Regions from separate parts of the Homo sapiens genome. Here regions 1, 3, 4, 5, 6 and 7 are each linked to region 2. The links are contacts of gene promoters, found by promoter capture Hi-C in blood cells and fetal thymus (Javierre and others, 2016). All regions are on one chromosome and are shown on one strand. Each heading gives the region's core, a stretch centred on a gene start or on the middle of the fragment in contact. The rest is flanking DNA. Distances are from core to core; before and after follow the strand shown.

Evidence for each region. The method cuts DNA at HindIII sites, captures the fragments that hold promoters and counts their contacts. A CHiCAGO score of 5 or more calls a contact.
Region 1: a fragment that was not itself captured here is called in contact with the fragment with the promoter of RCOR3 in region 2 in 1 of 17 cell types (M0 macrophages); the score reaches 5.1 in M0 macrophages.
Region 3: a fragment that was not itself captured here is called in contact with the fragment with the promoter of RCOR3 in region 2 in 2 of 17 cell types (M2 macrophages and M0 macrophages); the score reaches 6.4 in M2 macrophages.
Region 4: a fragment that was not itself captured here is called in contact with the fragment with the promoter of RCOR3 in region 2 in 2 of 17 cell types (M1 macrophages and M2 macrophages); the score reaches 7.4 in M1 macrophages.
Region 5: a fragment that was not itself captured here is called in contact with the fragment with the promoter of RCOR3 in region 2 in 1 of 17 cell types (M0 macrophages); the score reaches 6.1 in M0 macrophages.
Region 6: a contact is called between a fragment that was not itself captured here and the fragment with the promoter of RCOR3 in region 2, in 2 of 17 cell types (M2 macrophages and M0 macrophages). The highest score is 5.6, in M2 macrophages.
Region 7: a contact is called between a fragment that was not itself captured here and the fragment with the promoter of RCOR3 in region 2, in 1 of 17 cell types (M1 macrophages). The highest score is 6.6, in M1 macrophages.

The regions. Positions count from the first base shown.
Region 1 is chr1:210,417,138-210,420,317 of GRCh38, reverse strand. HHAT (hedgehog acyltransferase) reads right to left here. Exons shown (of 12, transcript NM_018194.6): 7 at 1,993-2,164. Among named protein-coding and RNA genes, the nearest start is that of HHAT, 90 kb to the right of the region's middle. The HindIII fragment of the contact is 6,070 bases long and covers 1-3,180 here.
Region 2 is chr1:211,257,674-211,260,669 of GRCh38, reverse strand. RCOR3 (REST corepressor 3) reads right to left here and starts at 1,304. Exons shown (of 12, transcript NM_001136223.3): 1 at 944-1,304; 2 at 506-562. The coding sequence starts at 1,109. It overlaps LOC105372902 (a long non-coding RNA gene), which reads left to right and starts at 1,478. Exons shown (of 2, transcript XR_922552.3): 1 at 1,478-1,934; 2 at 2,095-2,857. RefSeq lists silencers at 726-1,025, 1,096-1,885 and enhancers at 588-1,087, 1,590-2,091, 2,366-2,485. The HindIII fragment of the contact is 7,419 bases long and covers 1-2,772 here.
Region 3 is chr1:210,364,805-210,367,838 of GRCh38, reverse strand. The region is part of intron 3 of HHAT (hedgehog acyltransferase); the gene reads right to left. LOC124904503 (a long non-coding RNA gene) reads left to right here and starts at 893. Exons shown (of 2, transcript XR_007066866.1): 1 at 893-1,052; 2 at 2,658-3,034. The HindIII fragment of the contact is 2,396 bases long and covers 210-2,605 here.
Region 4 is chr1:210,437,954-210,441,090 of GRCh38, reverse strand. The region is part of intron 7 of HHAT (hedgehog acyltransferase); the gene reads right to left. Among named protein-coding and RNA genes, the nearest start is that of HHAT, 110 kb to the right of the region's middle. The HindIII fragment of the contact is 3,981 bases long and covers 1-3,137 here.
Region 5 is chr1:210,401,573-210,404,571 of GRCh38, reverse strand. It overlaps HHAT (hedgehog acyltransferase), which reads right to left. Exons shown (of 12, transcript NM_018194.6): 6 at 1-108. Among named protein-coding and RNA genes, the nearest start is that of HHAT, 74 kb to the right of the region's middle. The HindIII fragment of the contact is 2,007 bases long and covers 608-2,614 here.
Region 6 is chr1:210,324,886-210,327,936 of GRCh38, reverse strand. It overlaps a transcript of HHAT not described here. Among named protein-coding and RNA genes, the nearest start is that of HHAT, 2.5 kb to the left of the region's middle. The HindIII fragment of the contact is 1,479 bases long and covers 524-2,002 here.
Region 7 is chr1:210,347,285-210,350,565 of GRCh38, reverse strand. It overlaps HHAT (hedgehog acyltransferase), which reads right to left. Exons shown (of 12, transcript NM_018194.6): 2 at 1,500-1,633. The coding sequence starts at 1,590. Among named protein-coding and RNA genes, the nearest start is that of HHAT, 20 kb to the right of the region's middle. The HindIII fragment of the contact is 279 bases long and covers 1,489-1,767 here.

The sequences.
Region 1 (3,180 bases), core at 46-2,545, 840 kb after region 2:
TTACATGTCTTAACATGAATGCTTCTCAAAAACATAATGTTAAACAAGAAAACCAAGTCACAGAACATACATAACAAGCATGAATCTATTCATACGACGAGGTGTTAACATATGCAATTTTAAGGATTTAACTGTGGTAAAAGTACAAAGAAAAAGAAGAAAAGGATAAATACAATATTCAGGTAATCTTTTCAGAGAGGGTAATAGAGGCTGATGGGATTACGAGTACAAACTAAGGGCTTCTACGATTCTGGTTAGTTCTTAAGCTGAATGGTGGACACACAAAAGGTGTGTTGGTGACATCAGAGTCACATAATTTACTACCCCTAGTGCCGATCTTAAGTATCATTGTTATATGGAATAACTTCCTTATTGTTTAAGCCCCATTTTGAGTTGTGTCTTCCATTACTTTTAGTTTAAAAACCCTCAAGCTGAAACAGTCCCTTAGTTTGTATCCCATACAACTGGGATCTGACTTAGTATAAGCTATCATTTAATCATATTCTGTTTGTCTAATTGTATCATTAAAACTTTACAATATTAGCAACTCCAAACTATAAAAAGTTTTGTTTGGAAGAAAGAGACTATCATTAAACTAGCTTAGCATTTTTTCAATCTTAAAGGTTTCGTCCTTGGAAACATTCTGATTAAGTACGTGTGATACCAAGAACAATCAAGATTTGTTTAAGAAGATCTATGAAATGTTAAACAGATAAAGAAGGAGTCAGGCTTGTACTCTTGCCCTCAGCAGGGAACAGCTTGATCTGCCTGGAGGATCACACAGTTATTGGAGCTACAGGCTGGAGGTCAGAGCACAGGCAGAAGTCAGCCACTGCGGGAGTCCTCAAAAGGAGAGAGAACAAGGAAGTGAAGAGATTTTATTCAGAAAAGGGCGTGGGCTCTGCTGTTTTGGCCAGAGGAATAAAAGAACAGTGGTTTCTCCACAGACAAATCCTATACTGGAGACTAGCCCTGCTGAGGAAGTAAGACTTCCATGCCACCTCCCTGGCAGACACACAGGAAAGGGTAGATAAGGAAAGGGGATCTACAGAGGGAAATACACACACGCCATTTATTCTATCCCAAGACAGTGTACAAGGTACACCCTCAATGTGCAGCGCTGCCTAATATCCTCCTATTATTCCACAAAGCTAAGTCTCCCTATTTTACAGATGAGGGTGCTGGAACCGAGAGGTTAAGTAAACTGCCAAGGTTACACACCAGTCATTGGTGAAGCTGAAACTCAAACCTATGGCTGTGTGATCCTGAAACTCATTCTTTTTTTGAGACAGAGTCATGCTTTGTCACCCAGGCTGGAGTGTGGTGGCATGATCTTGGCTTACTGCAACCTCCGCCTCCCAGATTCAAGTGATTCTCCTGCCTCAGCCTCTCGAGTAGCTGGGATTACAGGTGTCTCTCACCACACCCAGCTAATTTTTGTATTTTTAGTAGAGACATGATTTCACCTTCTTGGCCAGGCTGGTCTCAAACTCCTGACCTCAAGTGATCTGCCCGCTTCAGCCTCCCAAAGTGCTTGGATTACAGGCATGAGCCACCACACCCAGCCTCATATTCTTTAATACCTTATGCACAAAGAACAAGGAAGACTGTGGAACAACTCAATCTTGGAGCATTCTCTCTTAGAATGAACTCAAAGCTGCCCCCAGCAACTCCTGCCTTCTACTGCTAAACACAATATTGGCTACGCTGTGAAGATGTGGACCCAGCTAAGGTCAGTAGGATCCCATTACAGAGAAGAATGCCACCATTCTTGGTCCCCAGACTACAAGCACAGCCCTCACTTCCGTCAGCTACATCAACCACTTCTCACATGCACAATCTTGGCCACAAGAGGAGTAGGTTAAAAAATAATAATAAAGAGGGTTTGCTATAGGCACCTGCACCCCTGCTCACCCCCCACTCCAGCTCCATTCTGATGCTAACTGTTGGACTATTGGGGCTCATCCCACTGTTGGTGATTCCCACAATTACCTAAGGTCCAACAAGAGACAGTCTCCAGGAGGGGGATGCTGCTGTAGATGGCATGCATGTACATCAGGTGAGCCATCAGCTCGGCCAGCCACCACCAGCAAAGAAGGCGGCCCAGCCCCAGGGCCAGGACACACAGGCTGGCCTTCAGGGAGTCATGCTCCTGCTGCTGCATCTAAAGTGGAAACAAAAGAGGTCATTCGATGGTGCCTTGATTCCTAAAACAGTCCCTTAGATAAGATTTTTCATAAACTTCCCACAAATATTATTGCTATGCCAGCTGACAGAGGGTTGGTTTGGTTTGTCTTGGGAACACTCAATGTTCTTGGTTGGAAGAATCGTATTTCAGCTTGAACATTTGTCTCAAAATAAGAATGGGGGTTGGGGGTCAACAAGCTAGCCTAGTGCCAAGAGCCAAAGACACGTTCTGCACTGATCCCTCCACTCCAGCATCAGCCCTGGAAAAACCCAAGCGGGGAGGGCAGCACTCAGTGTATTTTCCCCACTGGGAATTTGGAGTTTCGGGCTACAGGTGCCACCCTGCCTGAATTCCTCCATCACCTACTCATGTCTGAGGCTGGCAAAAGCAGGTCCCAGTCAACAAGAGACACAGGACTGGTAGAAGAGAAAGAGAAAAAGATGGGCTGAGAGCAAGGGAAAATGATGTGTGGGCATGTCATTTCACCCTAAGTTGTTTTTTGAAACATGGCAGACAGTATGTGGAACAAGTCTCTTGCTTAGTAGGCAGCAGAGCATAACAGTTAAGAATACAGACTTTAGAAAATGTAAAATAAGGTGGGGCATGGTGGCTCACACCTAGAATCCCAGGACTTTGGGAGGCCCAGGTGGGCAGATCACCTGAGGTCAGGAGTTCGAGACCAGCCTGGCCAATATGGTGAAACCCCATCTCTACTAAAACTACAAAAACTAGCTGGGCATGGGGTGGCACATGCCTGTAATCCCAGCTACTCAGGAGGCTGAGGCAGGAGAATTGCTTGAACCTGGGAGGCGGAGGTTGCAGTGAGCCAAGATCACACCACTGTACTCTAGCCTGGGTGACAGAGCAAGACTGTCTAAAAAACAAAACAAAACAAAAGTAAAATAAGTCACTTCGGGTAGCTTTGCCATCAAAACAATATTGAGTTTCACTCCATAAACTCGGGCTGTTTTTCCATTTATCAGGTCTTCTTT
Region 2 (2,996 bases), core at 55-2,554:
AAAGAGACAATCCCGGCTGCGCACAGGTCGGCAGGGCTCGCCCTTGGCTTCCCCGGCCGGTGACAGCCGCCCTGGCCTCTGCCACCCGCCCGACAGAGCGCGGCCCTCGGCGCCGGGGCGAGCGAGGTGGCAATTGACATTTGCACGGTTCGTCCATACAGTCCGCACGCCTGCTCCTCCAGCCCGCGGCCTCGGACCCTGGACTCCGCCAAGGGCCGTCTCCCTCTGCTCACCCCGACCCTGCCCCAGGCTCAAGGGCTAGGAAGGCGATGCCCCCAGCGGGCAAGTGGCCTCCGAAGGGAACCATGTTAACCTTGCAGTGCACACATCTGCCCACACGCCCAGTGTCACAGCCCGGCCAAGCCTGACAGCCTCCCCGCCACGGATGCCTGCCCAGCCCAACCCCGCATCCCCTCCCGGCCCCATGCCCGGACTCCTAGCCCGTCCACCCCAAACCAAGCCCAGGAAAGGGGATATGAGATTTTGCTTAAGCAAATATATCTACCTGGATCAAATTCAGGGATCCGAGCTTGGTATTCGGCTCCGACTCTCATCCCAACATCTGCAAAGCAATGCCAAAAAATATATATAAAAAATAAAAAAGAAGAAAAGAAAGAAAAAGGAAGAGACACTTAAAAAATAAAAATCGCTAGATGGAGGAAAGAAGCGGCGGGTGGATGGGAAGATATCAACTCGGGGCACTCCGGGAGATGGCAGCGGATTGGGGGCGGGGAGCGGGGGGGGGCAAAGGCGGAGGATTGGTCGAGGGCGGAGGGACGGGGGGTCGCGGGGGTGCTGCTGCACTGCACCGGGAGTTCGAGGCTACCGCAGCGCCCAGGCTCTGAGGGGAGGGAGGGCGGGAGAGCGGCGAGGGGAGGGGGCTGGGGGAGGGGAAGAGGGAGGGGGGCAGGCGGGCTGGCGGGGAGGAGTTCGAGGCTACCACCGTGCTCGTCGTCGCTGCTGCAGCCGCTCTCGGGCTCTGAGTAGTGCAGCCCGCCGTTGGTGGACGAGGCGCCGCTGCCGCCGCCGCCTGCCGGGCTCTTGGCGCTGCCGTTGGCCGATCGGTTCTTCCCCAGTAACTCGGGCCCTTTCTCCATCATGCCGGGCATGGTAGAACAGGGGAGGGGGAAAGGTGAGGGGAAGAGGCAGGCGTCAGGGTGAAGGCGGAGATGGCTTAGAGCGCGGGCGGGAGGGAAAGGAGGAGGAGGAGGAGACGGCGGCGGCGGCGGAGGAGGAGGAGGCTGTTAATATGGAGCCGCCATAACCGCCCCGCTCCGGCAGTAGCGCAGTCGCCTCACAACAACCCGCCCCGGCCCCGCCTCTCTCCCCTCCTCCCTCCGCCGCCGCCCGCCCCGCGCAGTCCCGGGCGCCCCTCGGCCGCACCGCGCTCTACGCCGCCGCCGGTATCACTCCGCTCCGCAGGGAGGTTCCGGCCGCCTGGGGGGAGGGGAAGGGGGGAGGGGCGGGGAAACCCCGCTCGCAGGCAGCCGGGCCACCCCAACCAAGCGCTAATAAAATCGCCACCGAGGCGTGGCCGCCGCTCGGGCTTTCTTCCTAGGGGGCGCTCCGGAGCGCGGGCGGGAGATGCACACGAGGGAGCGGGACTCTTTGCCCTCTCTGGGCGGAAGGAACGCGGTCACCCTGAGAAAGGACCGGCGCGACCCGACTGGGCGACCGGGGGGAGCGGCCCCCCCCCTCTGCGGACCGGGCTGCAGGCACGGGCCTGAGCGCGGCGTTCCTCAGATGTCTGGACCCGCAGGCCGCTCAGTTTCCCGGTGTCCGCTGGCAGCCTCGAGCTAGGGGCGCGCTCTGGCCCGCGGTGCAGTCGCGCAGTATAGCAGGGCGGCCTTGGGGCTCTGAGGCCCAACCGGCGAAAGAAGTAGACTCGGCCCTAACCATCTCGACGCTACAATTTTTGTTTCTGGATCTCTGAAGTAGGGCCCAGTTCCCGAGAGAGAGTCTGGGGATGACGGGATGAGTTTCCGGGGCTGAGCGATGCAACTGTTTTTTGCTGAAGCCCCTCTCCCCGATCCTAACCCTACTGTCTTATTCTTACCATCTTTCTTTCCTTTTTTTTCTTCTCTGTTTTAATAGCTGGGGAGTGAGTGCTGTGGAGTGAGGGGGAAATAAGATAAACATGAGACCTGGCCCAGTAGACGCGTTTTCAGTTCTTGCTGACCTGCGGTCTCCGCTTGGAGCGCTGGGGGAGAGGGCGGAGTCCCCCGGCAGAGGTGAAGCGAGAGCTGCTTTCTGGCAGCGTTTCCAGCCTGGAAGGAGTTGTGCTCTGTAATGCTTTTCTGAATTGCATTCGGCGAAAGGAGTAGGAAACTGCGTTTATTCCTTCACCAGATTTGAGGGCATCTGCTGCGTGCCAGGCTGCCTGGCATTGGGGGCTGTTTATGATTTTCTTTTCCTCTTTTTCTGATTTCTTCCCCCCCACTGACGAATAAGTAGAAATAAGTGAGGATTTAACTGTGAGCCTCTAGTATGCAGATGTATGCTGAGCGGTATTGGGGTTCAGCAGATACTCTCCAAACACTTGAAAATACTGTCTTGTAATAATTCTATTATGGGTCAATCCAGAGTGGATCAAACCAGAAATGAACGTCTCTGGCCAGAGCAAACCTTACTGAGAGAAATAATATATCTAACTCAGGAATTGAGCCAAGAAAACCCTGGGAAGTAAATATTTCTGAAGTGAAAAGTCTCCTGTGTGTGTACAAAACTATCTGGTTCTAGTAGTAGAGATAGTCTCATCTCTCTATTAAAGCTTAATGTGATTCCATTAAATATTTGAATCATAAAACTGGACCTTTTATTCTGTTCCTTTTCTCAATAAATGCAGTTCTGAATATTATTTTAATTCCCGTATAGTTTTCCTACAAGGAGAGAATGCCCTGGCCAAATGAAATGAATAGCCATTTTCCTTGACAGTCGTTATTTTTCATTACAAATTAATACACTGGTATGTTGGTCTTTATGCAGCAGTTTCTAAT
Region 3 (3,034 bases), core at 158-2,657, 890 kb after region 2:
GGAGTCTGAACAGCCCTTGACAGCCGCACCTACGCAAGCACCCACACCACTTCTGTTGTCTTGGCAAGTGCAATCAGCATTACCCTCAAAGAAATGACAAAGATCAAAAGCATTCTTGATTGGGGCTGTAATCCTCCAAACCTGAACATCATCAAAAACTGGAGGACTACAGTCAGGTCCAGCTCCCTTTCACTGCCCTAAGTGAAGCTTCACTTTGACTCACCATTTCCCTAATACATTCTTCCCTTTTCTAACCATAGCAACACCACTGGAACAGCATCTCCTCTACTGATGATCTTGCCAAATCCTACTCATTCTCTGGAGCTCAGGTGAAGGTCAGCCCCCTTCTCCCAGAAGCAGTTTGTGATTTTTTGTGCCCAGAATGGTGTCTCCCTACTCTGACTCTACACACTGTCCCACTTAGCCCACTTACCTACATGGCTATCTAGAGGCACGTAGGACCAATGTATTTCTCACCTCCATGCTGCAACCTGGCCCTTCACTCTTTCCTGCAGTTAAATTCAATAAAATACTCACTGACTCTGCTCCAGGCATTGAAGATACAGAAATGATTAAATCCCAGCCCTGCTTTTGTGGGACCCACAATCTAAGTCAGAAAGGACAACATCAAATAAAATTCTACAAATAAATTTGTCATAATAGGGTACACGATTTCACCCAAAAGAGTGCTATCCTATCACCCTGTTTACTGCCTTCATGTCATTTAGCTCAATCTGTGGCCATTGTTCATTTGTTTGCGGTCAGCCTGTCCCTAGTAGGAGAAACTAGCATAGGAATGTTGTCTGTCTGGCTCACCACTGTCCCCAGCGCTCCATATGGACTTGAGCACAGAGACACTCTCATTGAAAGCTGTATTTGTGGAAGGAAGTAAAGAGAGAGGCAGGGAAGTGTCAGGAACTATGAGCACCAAGCTCAGCTTGAGCTTCAGGCAATGCTTCGTGACAGGGAGCCAGCTATGATCTGAAGTCTGAGTAAGGGCCGGACAGGGAAGGCGTGAGCCCCAATCCAGAAGAGGAACAGGATGAGTAAAGGTAAGAATGGCAAATCGGCATGACCAAGGGAGTGGTCATTTAAGAGCCCTTAAATATTGCTATAGACCAGCTGCTCTTAAAAGGGGATGATTTTTGCCTCCTGGGGGCATTTGGCAATGCATGGAGACTTTTTAAATTGTTTCTTGTTTTTGATTTTATTTTTAGAGACAAGGTCTCACTCTGACACCCAGGCTGGAGTGCAGAGTGCAGTGGCACGATCTCTGCTCACTACAACCTCCACCTCCCGGGTTCAAGCAATTCTTGTGTCTCAGTCCCTGGAGTAGCTGGGATTACAGGCACACACCTGGCTGTAATTTTTGTATTTTTAGTAGACATGGAGTTTCATCATGTTGGCCAGGCTACTCCTGACCTCAATGATCGCTGGTCTTAGCCTTCCCAAGTGCTGGGATTACAGGAGTGAGCCACCACACCCAGCCCACTTTTTAAAATTGTTAAGGCTTAGGGCAGGAAATGCTGCTAGCATCTACTAGGTAGAGTCCAGGGACTCTGATAAGCATTGTACAACGTCCAGAGCAGCTCACCACAACAGCCATCTAATCTAGAATGTCAGTAGTGGCCAGGCAGCATAGCTCACACCTGTAACCCCAGTGCTTTGGAAGGCTGAGGCTAGGAGTTCAAGACCAGCCTGGGTAATATAGTGAGACCCCATCTCTACAAAATATTAAAAATCAGCCAGGTATGGTGGTGCATGTCTGTAGTCCCAGCTACTCAAGAGGCTGAGGCAGAAGGATCGTTTGAGCCTAGGAGTTCAAGTCTCCAGTGAGCTATGATTACAACCACTGTACTCCAGCCTGGGTGACAGAGCAGGATCACATCTCTTCAAAAAAAAAAATTTTTTTTAATAAAATGTGGCCAGGCATGGTGGCTCATGATTCTAATGCCAGCACTTTGAGAGGCTGAGGCAGGTGGATCACTTGAGGTCAGGAGTTTGAGACCAGCCTAGCCAACGTGGTGAAACCCCATCTCTATTAAAAATACAAAAATTGGCCAGGCGTGGTGGTGTGTGCCTATAATCCCAGCTACTCAAGAGACTGAGGCAAGAGAATTGTTTGAACCTGAGAGATGGAGGTTGCAGTGAGCCAAGATTGTGCCACTGCACTCCAGCCTGGGTTACAGAGCGAGACCCTATCTCAACAAAATAAAATGTCAGCCAGGCATGGTGGCCCACACCTGTAATCCCAGTATTTTGGGAGGCCAATGCAGGTGGATCACCTGAGGTTGGGAGTTTGAGACCAGCATGGCTAATATGGCGAAACCCCATCTCTACTAAAAATAAAAAAAATTAGCTGGATGTGGTTGCAGGTGCCTGTAATCCTAGCTACTCAGGAAGCTGATGTGGGAGAATCACTGGAACCCAGGAGGCAGAGGTTGCAGTGAGCCAAGATCACACCACTGCACTCCAGCCTGGGCAACAGAGGGAGACTCCGTCTCAAAAAAAAAAAAAAAAAAAAAAAAACTGTCAGCAGTACTGAGGTTTACCAACCCAGCTGCAGACTAACATTCAAGGGATGGGCTGGTCAGAAAACTAAGCTTTCTTCTAAAGGTCATGATTTCTAGTCACATCTAATATCTTCTTTTGATTAGAATTTGGACCAAAATAGCATGTGCTTGCCACTTCCTACAGCCTCTGAGAAAAGAAATATTCAGCAAGGAGTATCTTGATCCTAAGGACCCATATCAATGTCCTTCCTCTGCCGGATATTCACCAGGACCCATTTCCTCCGTAAATTCTAGGGCTCCAAACCACCCACCCCACATGCAAGGTGATGAGAAGTAGAGAGATGAGAAGATGAGAGGTGCTCAGAGCACTGGTAGATGAATGGATAGTCAGACAGAGGGATGGACAGATTTGTCAGGATGGCAAAAGACGGAATCCTTGGAGCTCCCAGAGTGTGTGTGTCTGTGCCACGTGGACTTTTCTGTGAAGGCAGAATTGGCCTGAGCAACAACACTCCCGACCC
Region 4 (3,137 bases), core at 277-2,776, 820 kb after region 2:
ACGCAGTGGCTAGTTCAAGTTACACTAGGAGGGGGTGGCATCCTCACAAACTGTGGCATATTGTGGGGTTTGAGTCCTGGCTGCATAGCCTGGATTCAGTCCTCTGAGTTCAGAGCCCTGTGATTCTATGAGCTACTCATTTTCCTTTTAATGAATCTTATTTTCTGCATAAATCATCCAAAGTTGGTTTCTCCTACTTCCAAAGAAGAAACTGATAGGTTCAAGAAACTGATACTCAGTACCCGTCAGCATCAGACACTCAGGAAAAACTAGGGAACCTAGATTTGGCTGTCTTGATGCTTTGGAGCTCAAGGCAGTGAAAATCCAGCTACTAATCAACAGTGAGAGTCTGGAAGCTCCAGGTACACAGTGTTGAAATTGTTCATCAAATTACTGTCTGGAGTCACCTGGAAAGAAGCAACCACTGAAGCCAAGACTGGGTGACCGAGTAGACAATTCCACAAAACACTATTATGGGGAATACTAGGATGCACTGCCCAGATTTCCTTAGGCAATGAAGGACTCACTGTCCCAGCTGATGGGAAGTGACCAGCAGAAACTCTCAGCTGGGGATTACCTCCACTGGGGATTGCGTCCACTCAGGAAAGCTACCTCACCCAAGCCTTTCTGGGGTGGGCTACATCCAAGGACTGATTGCCATGGGGGTAGAAAGGCTTAGCCTCCTCACTCTGCTTGGGACCACTCCAAAGAATTACCCAACCTGCAGAACTCCCTACAGAATCGACTGGAGCTTCCATGAAGACTGCGTCACAGTTGGCTCCTCCCTCTGTCAGGCCCTCCTTCCACCCCTTTCCTCCTACAGGAATTAATCTCAAGAGAACACCCTAATAAACACCTACAAACTAGCCTCCCTGGGGAACCCAACTTACAACTACTAAGGGCATGATGTCTTTAATTCCAAGAAATATGGTGTAGGCTGCCAAGCAGAGCGTAAAGAATGAGAGTAAGAGGAGAATGACAGGCTCCAATTCCTAAATTCTCAGCTTAGGGTATGGACTGAAACCCAGGGACCTTCTTGGCCTCTGCTAAAAACCATCTCTTATCTCTTCTAGTCAGCGGGCTCAATAAACAAAAAACCCCAGAAGTTTTATCCTTAGCTTTATTAAATTACAATGTCAGCTGAATTCTCACCCTTGCAAGGTATCTATAGACTGGGCTACCAATCTACAAAGAGTGAAACTCCTAAAAACTAAAACAGAGATTTAAGGTGATTAAGAAAAGCCCAAGTCCCCAAACCTCAGGGAACATCACTTGTCAGCAGCGACAGCCCCTTTCTCCCTGTGTAAGGCTTTCAGATGAGGCTGATCTGGCCTTACCTGAAGACCCTTTTAATGAAGTCTCATGAAGGAATTACTTTGCAAGAGAAGCAGATTTTCTTCATCTCTCCTGCTCATCACGCCTCACTGTCTAGAAATGAGCCCCAGCATGCCCCAAGGGGCCTATTACAAGGCTTTCACTCCAAAAGAACCACAAGGTTTTTCTACTTTACATTAGCAAAACTCTGACCTATATATGTGGGATTCTAAGGAATCTAGATGGAGGGAAGAAGACTAAATAGATGGGGTGGAATGATCAATATGAGCACACTTACCAGCAAGTCAGGATTCCACATGCCAGCTGCAGCAGCTGGGAGTGGAGCTGACTGTATGAGTTTGGAAACCCAGACACCACAGCTGCCCATATGTATGGGGCTGAGATGCCAGAAATTCTTTGGGAAGTCAAGAGAGGAAGTAATAAAATGATTTCAGGAGATAAGAATGTCTGAGTGGATTTATCATGTGTGACCTGCTAGCCCACTCCCTAATTATGCCCCCAAGAGAGCTCAGAAGACACTCCCTTCACTGAGAATTTGAGAAATAAATACATTAGTGAGGGGAGCACAAGCGTCTCAGAAATGTGTTGCCAAGGCCATTCTCTGTGGGCTGAGGATGCTGTTAAGAGACAACGAAATTCTTTATTTCAATGCGGACACCAAACCCCTTAAGTAATAGACTAAATAATGCCACTTAACCCCAAGGTGACGTGTGCATGATGACCACAGTAAGCCACATGGCCTTCCTGGCGGTCAGATGCTCTGATTCACTGGGATGTTTGGAGAAGGGCAACTGATCATGAGGTCCATAGACCTTAGACAGACAGATACTCAAGTTGAACCTCTCTGTGTCTCCATTTCCTCACTGTAAAATAGCGATACGATTCTATCTGCTCATAGGGCTGCTGTGAGAATTACATAGGCTAATATAAAGCTCTTAAAGCAGTGTTTGGCACAGATTAAGTGCTCAATATATGCTAGCTATCATTTCCACTACGGTTATTTTTATTGTCATTATATAACTGGCAAATAATCTAGTTTTAGTGAACAAGGCTTAACTTAAGCCACCATGATCATTTACCCAATTTCCAGACCTGAGTCAGTTCACAGACCTAAAGACCCTAAAACAGCCAAATAACCGTAAGAAAAATCATGAACAGAGCATGCCAATAGGACCTACAAAATTAGGAGTGGCAGGTATACCAGATGCCTTAATAAGTATGAGCATATCAGAAATAAACATACATATATATATGTGGGTATATCACTTCAGAGCAGTTTCTGGGAGTTCAAGACACAAGTAAAGGACAAGTTGGTCTACCTTATGCCACTCATCCATAAGAAAGAGGCACAGCTTTGGTAGACCTCTTCGGAATTTGGAGGTGATATGTATGTAACTGTGCAGGCCACTCTAATTCATTCACCAGGTGAGCTATCCCTGACCACAGGACACCAAAGAACCATGTTACCTGAGTGGTCCATTATCAACTAGAGTTATCTGATCCACCTAGCCACAATATCAGGAAGCATTCCATTATCAATGGATACATACACATGTGTATACACACACACACACACACACAAACACGGAGAATCCTGAGGTCACAATTAAGTTGCAGGAAAAGAGAACTCCTCCTCCCAATATGCTGACTCCTGCTATGTGGCTATCCTTCTCTCATCCCACACCTAAGGCCCCAAGAGGACTTGGTAGAGGAGGGGAAACAGCTCTGTTCACTGATGACTGCCCAAGATATGATGGAATCTGCTGGAAATGAACAGCTGCAACCTTATATGTGAGATGGCC
Region 5 (2,999 bases), core at 362-2,861, 860 kb after region 2:
CAGCTGCTGCCAGCAGAGCTCCAGGCTGAAGCTGGTGTAGTACAGGCAGCGAACGGTCAGCGTGAACTGCAGCAGGTAGTACTCGTTTTCTGTCTTGTACCACCTTCTCTACAAAATCAAAAGGAGAGAACAACCTTTGAGTGGCCAGCAGGGACATCGTCCAGTCCCACTGCAGGTGCTGGCCAGCAGGGCCACCGTCATCTGAGAATCCCAGGGGGCTCTGGGAAGGCAATTTCTTCTTCAGGCAGAGCAGCTGTGCCATAAAAGGCAGTCGAGAACCAATGAACACCAGGTAAATCTCATTGGTAATCAAAGCAAGCAGTTAATGAGCAGTAGGAAAAAGGACATCTCTAATGTTAACCTAGCATTAGGTCTGACACAACATAACGAAGGTTTTCCCAGTTAGGCATGTATCAGATACATCCAGGGCATAAGGTGCAGATTAGCTACATCCAGTGGATACTTTGACAGCTTCTTCAACAATTCAGATAACAAAGAGGGGCTTAAAATGTCCCATGGGATTTCTGTCTTCAATGTATTTTTCGTTTTCCTCTTTTGTTATCAGTTTGGCTCTACATTTAGTTGAGTAGCATTTGTCTAATAAGCTTTACAGACAAATATTTAAAAAAAAAAAAAAAAAGTCCCTGCCCTCAATATGTTAAATTCTCATACAGGACGTAGATGTGTAAAAATGCAATTACAATAGAGCATGAAACAAGAAATAACCTGTGCAAAAATATGCATGGAACAAAAAATGAGAAGGAAATACAATAAAATGTTAATATCGGGGAGTAAAATTATGAAGTATTTTCTAATTTCTATATTTTTCTACATTTTCCATGTTTTCCAAAAATACATTTAGTGAGAAAAACTATTTATGGAAATACATACGAGAAATAGAACTTGGGTCAAAGGAGAAAGTAATTAACTTGATCCATCAGGGTCTCTTAAAGCTGTACACAGAAAAACCAACCACTGAACAGAGTTTCTACTTCTTGTACAAGACTTTAGCAGCCACCAAGGGAAAAGAGGATAATCATATCAGGAGAACCACATGTGCAAAAGCATGGAAACCCAGCTAGTTTCTAATCACATGATCTCCTTCCTCAGTGTTTTTCAAATCACTGTAAAATTTGCAGAACAAATGAACATTTATTCACCTCCAACATCTATAACTGATGCTAATTGTCCCCAAATAAATGATAAATGGAATTAGATTCTGTTTGTACACTTGCCAGGTCCCCAAAAGGTTAGGTATGAGCTTGTTTTTATTTTTACTGTAAATCTGTTTTTAAGCACACTTGCCTAAATGGTTGCCTAATCATTCTGGGAAGTATCTTCATTAAAACGGAGTGATTATCTGATATACTCTCATAAGTCCAGATTTTGACATACGTGCTTAAAATGCTAGCCCCACATCATTAATGAGAGTGAGAAAAATGAAGGTAGACTAAAAACAGCAAAAAATACTTGAACTTTCAAAATGCTACAATTTTCACAAAATCACTTAACATAGATTATCCCGTTTGACTCTCAGAACAATCCCATGAGGAAGGAAGAGGATTTATTACTTCTGTTTTCCAAATGATGAGATTGAGGCTCAGAGGTTAAATGACTGCTCCAGCTTCAGAGTAGGAAGAGATGGGGAATAGAATAGACTAGGAACCAGGTCATCCATCTCACATTTCCCATCATGTTCCTTCCCATCACTGTGTTGATGCAGGGCACATGAATGCTAAGTGTTGTCACCTGGATCAATGAATGAGTGACTGAATGAATGAATAAAAAGATACCACAGGAGTTCCAGTCCCACAGTGATTGAAGAAAGAATACCCAACACTGCCCAAGATTTTGAATGTGCCTATGGAGATCCTAGGGGGTTAGAGGAAGGGATAGGTGTGTGCAGTGTCCCCAAAGCTCTAGGTGACACCTGGTCACTTACATGCTACTGTTTTATTGTTTACCAGTTTGTAAGAGCCAGCAGCTCTCAGAGCAGTATCGGACACTAACTGATCTGTTTTTCTGTGGCCCTCTTTTATTTCTTACCTTTAGAGACTGAGGTCTAAGCTGTACTTTGAAAGAGAATCCGGTGGACAGGGATGATGAGAAGGTTGGTTCCAAGAGACAGCATAAACATACGTAAATGTGTAAAGGGAAAGGTAAGCAGATTGGCCTGACTCAAAAAAACAGCTCCTGCCAGTTGGGCAGTGTTTGGGAACCGGGCTAGGAAGGAGAAGGTCGATGAAGGTGGGAAACATCAATGGTCCTGCCCTGGGCATATGACCCCTGATGTTTTCCAAGCTGCGCAACTCTCAGGCTGGCTGTTCTCAGAGTCAACTGGCCCCAAAAGTGAAGGGCTCTGAAGCTGAGTGCCCAGAACCAGACCCTGGAGCTGGGGCCTTGGACTTGTGTTCTTGCCATGCATTTCTCCTTAAAAGAAAGCTCCCACTTCTGGATGGTTGAGAGTTCCACACAGACTCTGCCTTTACTCCCCTGCAGCCACAGACCTTGGCAGCTCCAACTTGAACATGTAAAGGGTGTATTCAACAGACAAGTGAGAGAAGGAACCTCACACAGCCTGAGTGGGCCTGAGATAGGCTGAGGGGCCTAAGCTTCAATTGCATAAGCAGGGCTAGGTCACTCCAGTTACCAAAGACAGAAACAGATAGTCCAGAGCCGTCCAGGGGATGCTAGCCACTGCCCAGGAGATGATCAGAGAACACACAACAGAAATCAGAAAATGTAGTACAAGAAGAATTTGCTGATAGGTGCAATCGCCTCAGCAAGGCACAGGAAACTCAACTCAGAAGGCAGTCTGTCTGTCATCCACCAATTCTCTGGGTCAAGTCTGATGTGCACTCATAAAGTAAAAATGCACTGTTATTGTGACTGAGAAAAAAAATAAAGCTAAAAGGTAAGTGCCTATAAAATAAGATTTTACTAATGCAAACAAAAGCCCTAAAGAAGTGAGGTTTGAGCCCAGTGTCCTCCTCTATTAG
Region 6 (3,051 bases), core at 14-2,513, 930 kb after region 2:
CCCCCAACCCACTCACCCCAAAACCTGGTACTGGATGGTGTTCAGTAAGCAGGTGTTAGTAAACTAGCCCCAAATAGGAGTGCCAGATTTAGCAAATAAAAATACAGCATACTCAATTAAAATTGAATTTCAGGCTGGGCGCGGTGGCCCACGCCTGTAATCTCAGCACTTTAGGAGCGGTAGCAGGAGGATCACTTGAGGCCAGGAGTTTGAGACCAGCCTGGCCAACATGGTGAGACCCCGTCTCTACTAAAAATACAAAAATTAGCCGGGTGTGGTGGCCTGCACCTGTAATCCCAGCCACTTGGGAGGCTGAGGCACGAGAATCGCTTGAACCCGGGCGGCAGAGGTTGCAGTGAGCTCAGATCGCACCACTGCACTCCAACCTGGGTGACTGAGCCGGACTCTGTCTCAAAAAAATAAGTAAATAATTTCAGGTGAACAATATGTAACTTTTTAGTATCACTATGACCCATGCAATATTTGGGATATACTTATTTTTTTTAAGTACTTACAGGAAGCTTGTAATCCCAGCACTTTGGGAGGTCGAGGTGAGTAGATAACTTGAATCCAGGAGTTCGAGACCAGCCTGGCCAACATGATGAAACTCCATCTCTACCAAAAAAAAAAAAAAAAAATGGTATATCTGAAATTCAAATTTACATCCTGGGTATCTGAAAATCAAACTTAACTGGGTATTTTATCTGTCAACTCTAGATCCAAGGGTTTGGCAGAGGGAGTGGCAGAATAAGAACTCAACTCAGGTAGTGTCAAACTCAGGGACAGGGATGTGATAACAGCTCCTATATTATTTCTAAAAGATGCTGTTGTTAATATAGGTTCAGTGTGATTTACACTTAACCCCTGTCTACATATGCACTTTAAATTCACCGGCGAACACAAAGGAGATAAAGGCAGATTTAAACACAGGCAATCAGAAACATCAAATAAAAATAGCCAAAATTTATGTGTGTGTGTATATATATATATATATATATATATATATATATGTATGTATTAGAGACAGTCTCACTGTGTCACCCAGGCTAAGCACAGTGGCATGATCTCAGCTCACTGCAGATTCAAGCAATTCTTGTGCCTTAGCCACCTGAGTGGCTGGGATTACAGGCAAGCACCAGCCACCACACCTGGCTATTTAGTAGAGACAGGGTTTTGCCTTGTTGGCCAGGCTGGTCTCGAACTCCTGGCCTCAAGTGATGCACCTGCCTCAGCCTCCCAAAGTGCTGGGATTACAGGTGTGAGCCACCATGCTTGGCCATAATAGCCAAAATTTAAAGATAAGCAATAGACTGGGATATTTGCAAGAAATTTGCAAAGTGTTAATTTTAAAATTATATATAGAGTTAATACAATCAATAAGAAAACATTAGAAATCAATTATAGATGAGCAAGACACATTTATAGACAACCCACTAGAAAAAGGAGGAGGGAAATAAAAGTAGGAAACAAAAATATATTGCAAAAAGCTCAATGAAATGCATAGTAAAACAAGAACATGGTGGCTCACGCCTGTAATCCCAGCACTTTGGGAGGCCAAGGTGGGTGGATCACGAAGTCAGGAGATCAAGACCATCCTGGCTAACGTGGTGAAACCCCGTCTCTACTAAAAATACAAAAACAAAATTAGCCAGGCATCGTGGCGGGTGTCTGTAGTCCCAGCTACTCGGGAGGCTGAGGCAGGAGAATGGCGTGAACCCGGGAGGCAGAGGTTGCAGTGAGCCGAGATCGTGCCACTGCACTCCAGCCTGGGTGACTGAGCAAGACCCCGTCTCAAAAAAAAAAAAAAAAAAAAAAAAAACAAGAACACACAATTTTCACACATTAAGTTGGCAAAAAATTAATAAATAACATTACAGCCTGGCATGGGTGCTATGTGATAGCACTCACACACAATGTTTAGTTGGGTAAGCAATTTGGCAGTATGAAAACTTAAAATTTATCAAAATCTAAGGGAGGTGGGGCAAGATGCCAAATAGAAGCTTCCACCAATTGTCCTCCCTTCAAGAACAACAAAATGAACAACTATCAACAAAAAACACCTTAATAAGAACCAAAGATCAAGTGGGCCATTGCAGTACCAAGTTTTAACTTCATATCACTGAAAGAGGCACTGAAAAGCGTAGAGAAGACAGTCTTGAATTGCAGACGCTACCCCTCCCTCATCCTACAGCAGCAGCTGGGGAAAGATTCTCTCAGATCTTATGCAAGACCACTAAGGTGGTACCTCTGAGTCTGCAAGAGCCGTAGCATTCCTGAGCTTGAGGTGCCCTCTAATGCAGATATGATGGCAGTGACCCAAACCTAAATGACAACACCCAAGTCCCTTAGAATACCTGGAAAGCCTTCCCAAGAAGGATGAATACAAACAAGCCCACCCTGTGAAGACTACAATAAGTACCTAACTCTTCAATGCCCAGACACTGACACACATTCACAAGCATCAAGACCATCCAGGAAAACATGACATCACCAAACAAACTAAATAAGGCATCAATCCCAGAGTGACCTTTCAGACAGAGAATTCAAAATAGCTCTTTTGAAGAAACTCAATGAAATTCAAGAAAACATGAGATGGAATTCAGAATCCTACCAGGTAAATTTAATGAAGCAAATGAAATAATTGAAAAGAATTAAGCCCGAAATTCTGGAGCTGAAAAATACAATTGATATGCTGAAGAATGCATCTGAATCCTTTAATAGCAGAATTGATCAAGTAGAAGAAAGAATTAGTGAGCTTGAAGGCAGGCTATTTGAAAATACACAGTGGGAGGAGACAAAAGAAAAAATAATTTTAAAAAATGAAGTACACCTACAAGATCTAGAAAATAGCCTCAAAAGGCAAATCTGAGAGTTACTGGCCTTAAAGAGGAGGTTGAGAAAGAGATAGGGGTAGAAAGTTTATTCAAAGGGATAATAACAGAGAACTTCCCAAACCTAGAGAAATATCAATATCCAAGTAGAAGAAGGTTATAAAACACCAAGCAGATTTAACGTAAATAAGACTACCTCAAGACATTAAATAATCAAACT
Region 7 (3,281 bases), core at 379-2,878, 910 kb after region 2:
GAATTTGAAATTTAAAACAATATCATTTACATTGTCACCCAAAAAATGAAATACTGAGCTATAAATCTAACAAAATATGTATAAGATCTATATCAGGAAAACAATAAAACTCTCATGAAAGAAATCAAAGAACTAAATAAATGGAGAAATAGTCCATATTCATGGATAGGAAGACTCAATATTGTCAAGATGTCAGTTCTTCCCAACTTAATCTATAGATTCAATGCAACCACAATGAAAATCCTGGCAAATTCCATTGTCCGAATGTACCACAGTTTATTAGTCCATTTGCTGCTTAAGGACATCTTGATTGCTTCCAATTTTTAGCAATTATGAATAAAGCTGCTATAAACATCTTTATTTTATGGCTAAAGTTATTTTGTAGATATCAACAAATTGACTCTAAAGTTTATACAGACAGGCAAAAGACCCAGAATAGACAACACAAATAACAGTTAGAAGACTTCTATCCAACTTCAAGACTTAATGTAAAGCTACGGTAATCAAGACATTATGGTATTGGTGTAAGAATAGACACCTCCCATTTTCAATATACTTTATTTTTTAAAAGTAGTTTTAAAGCCAGGCATGGTGGTGCACTCCTGTAGTCCCAGCTACAGGGTGCAGTGGCTCACGCCTGTAATCCCAGCACTTTGGGAGGCTGAGGCAGGAGGATCACCTGAGGTCAGGAGTTTGAGATCAGCCTGGCCAACATGGTGAAACCACGTCTCTACTAAAAATACAAAAATTAGCCAGGCGTGGTGGTGGGCACCTGAAATCTCAGCTACTCAGGAGGCTGAGGTAGGACAATTGCTTGAATCCAGAAGGCAGAGGTTGCAGTGAGCCGAGATGGTACCATTGCTCTAGCCTGGGCGACAAGAGCGAAACTAGGTCTCAAAAAAAAAAAAAAAAAGTTTTAGGTAGCACATAGCCACCAACCTAAAGACTATTTCCCAGCCTCCCAGCTGTGCCCGTGGGACTCAGTGCTGGCCAGTTGGGTGTGAGCAGGAGTGACTAGTGCTCCTTGCCAAACTGCCGCTAAAATAAAGGAGGGCCCCCATTCCCCTTCCTTTGGGCTGGAATGTGACCTGATGATGATTTATCTCCAACACTCAGACAAAGGCAACACTAAAAATGACAGAAGAAGACAAAACGAACCCAGATCTAATATGTCTCAGAGGAGTAATGATGAAAGAGAAATTTAAGAGTTTACTTTGAATTCTGAACGCAAATCCCCTCCACGGCCTTCAATAGCTTTTGAATCAAACCCACCAATTATAGAAGACAAGCCACAGCATCACCTAAAAGACCTAGGTTTAGGGTAGAAAACTCAATGGACTCAGGTCACTGATTCAAACTATCCAAGACATGGGGAAGCAAATCAAGGCCCACATCATCTTGACACTATTGGATCATCTTCTTGAATCTTCCACCTCTGCTCCTTTTTTTGACAGGAGTTTCCTTGTTTGATAGGAGGTCTGAAAAGCTTGGGGCCTTACCTCTGGAGACTTTGTAAACTTCATAGAAGGAATAGAAGTGGAAGCCTAGTGAGGCAAGTAGGTAAAGTGCCAGTTCCCATCGGGGCAGCATGGCTCCTTGGCACGAAGGTTCCCGATGCCTACGCTGAGAGTTTCTGAGAAACAGAGACAAAACTTTAAGCCATGAACATGACACTAGAGAACAGCATCTAAACATCAATTCAGTTAGTTCACACTCCCGGAGACCCATCACTATTCAAGGTGATACAGACATAACCCCAATCAAGCTTCCTCCTCCCTGTGAACTTACTCCATCCTGCATCCAACACACACACACACACACACACACACGCACACATACACCACACATGTGCATCCTGCCTGTCAAAGGGGTCAGGTCTTTTCCTAGGAGTTCCCACAGTCTCCCATCAGAGTATACATCAGACAGTTCTCTACCCATTGCATAATATGCCTGTCTCTTCTGTGGAGTGGACCCTCAGATAGCAGGGACCATGATCTCTGACTCACCAGCCCCTAGCACAGTGCCTGGGATGTAGCAAGAAGGGACTACCAGGTGCTCTGTGAATAATAAATGGCTTCAAAAAGTCTGAAAAGCACAAACAGTATACAAACCTCTAAATCAACAGGTTCACCATCCTTGTTGTCCCTTTCAAGTATCATACTATAGGCCAGGCATGGTGGCTCATGCCTGTAATCCTAACACTTTGGGAGGCCAAGATGGGAGGATCACTTGAGGCCAGGAGTTCGAGACCAGCCTGGGCAACATAGCCAGATCCCCTCTCTAAAAGCAATAATAAAATAAAAACTTAAAATCAGCTGTCTGCCATGCATCTATGCACTTTATTTATGTATTTTTGGAGACAGGGTCTATGTTTCCCAGGCTGATCTTGATTTCCTGGCCTCAAGTGATCCTCCCACCTCAGCCTCCTGAGTAGCTGGGTTTATAGGCACAAGCCACTGTGCCAGGCCTCATCTGTACATTTCTTAAAGGGCAGTTAATGACATAATCACAGACATCTGTGACAGACACTGCTTGTTACCCACCGCCCCTCACTACCCCTTTTCAGAATTCAGTCTCTCTTCTTACACATCAATTAAAATTTCCTCTGGACACCAACACTACACTGTAGCTAAGTGTGGACACCTGAATAGCTCCATTCAAAAGGGTGTGAGTGAAGGGACATGGCTGTGGCCATCTCTTTCTTTCCCTCCCTTTCCTGTTGAACAGAATTGGAACAGCCTCCGTGGATGAAGAGGTGAAAGCCACATGGACAAGACAGAGGCCTCTCAGTCCCCAAATCCAGGTACCACCCCCAAGCCCCAAAGTGCCCCAGACTACTTAGATCTAGACTGTTACAGGAAAGAGAAATGCATTTCTAGGTTGTTTAAGCCTCTCCTATTCTAGATCTCTCCATCATGGCAGCCATGACTATACTCTAAGTAATAGAGAAGGTATAGGAAAGTTAGGTCCTAAAATTCAGCAAATTAAATGATTCCAAATGTTCCAAGTAACAAAGAGTTCACTAAATTTAAACGCATTTATGGCCTTTACTGCTTTATTTAAACCTCTCAAGTATGTCTCATTGTGGATGCCAAAATAAGAGCAAAATTTTAAGCAGCACCTCCCACCAACCCCACCAAGTACTTCTAACATGTGACAGTCATGCCAAACCCCAGAATTCACACATTATCTCATTTTGTTTTCACAACAGCCTGGTGAAGTAGGTGGAAGTGGAACAGGGGAGGTAGGCATTTTATAGATGACAAATGTGATGAGGTCAC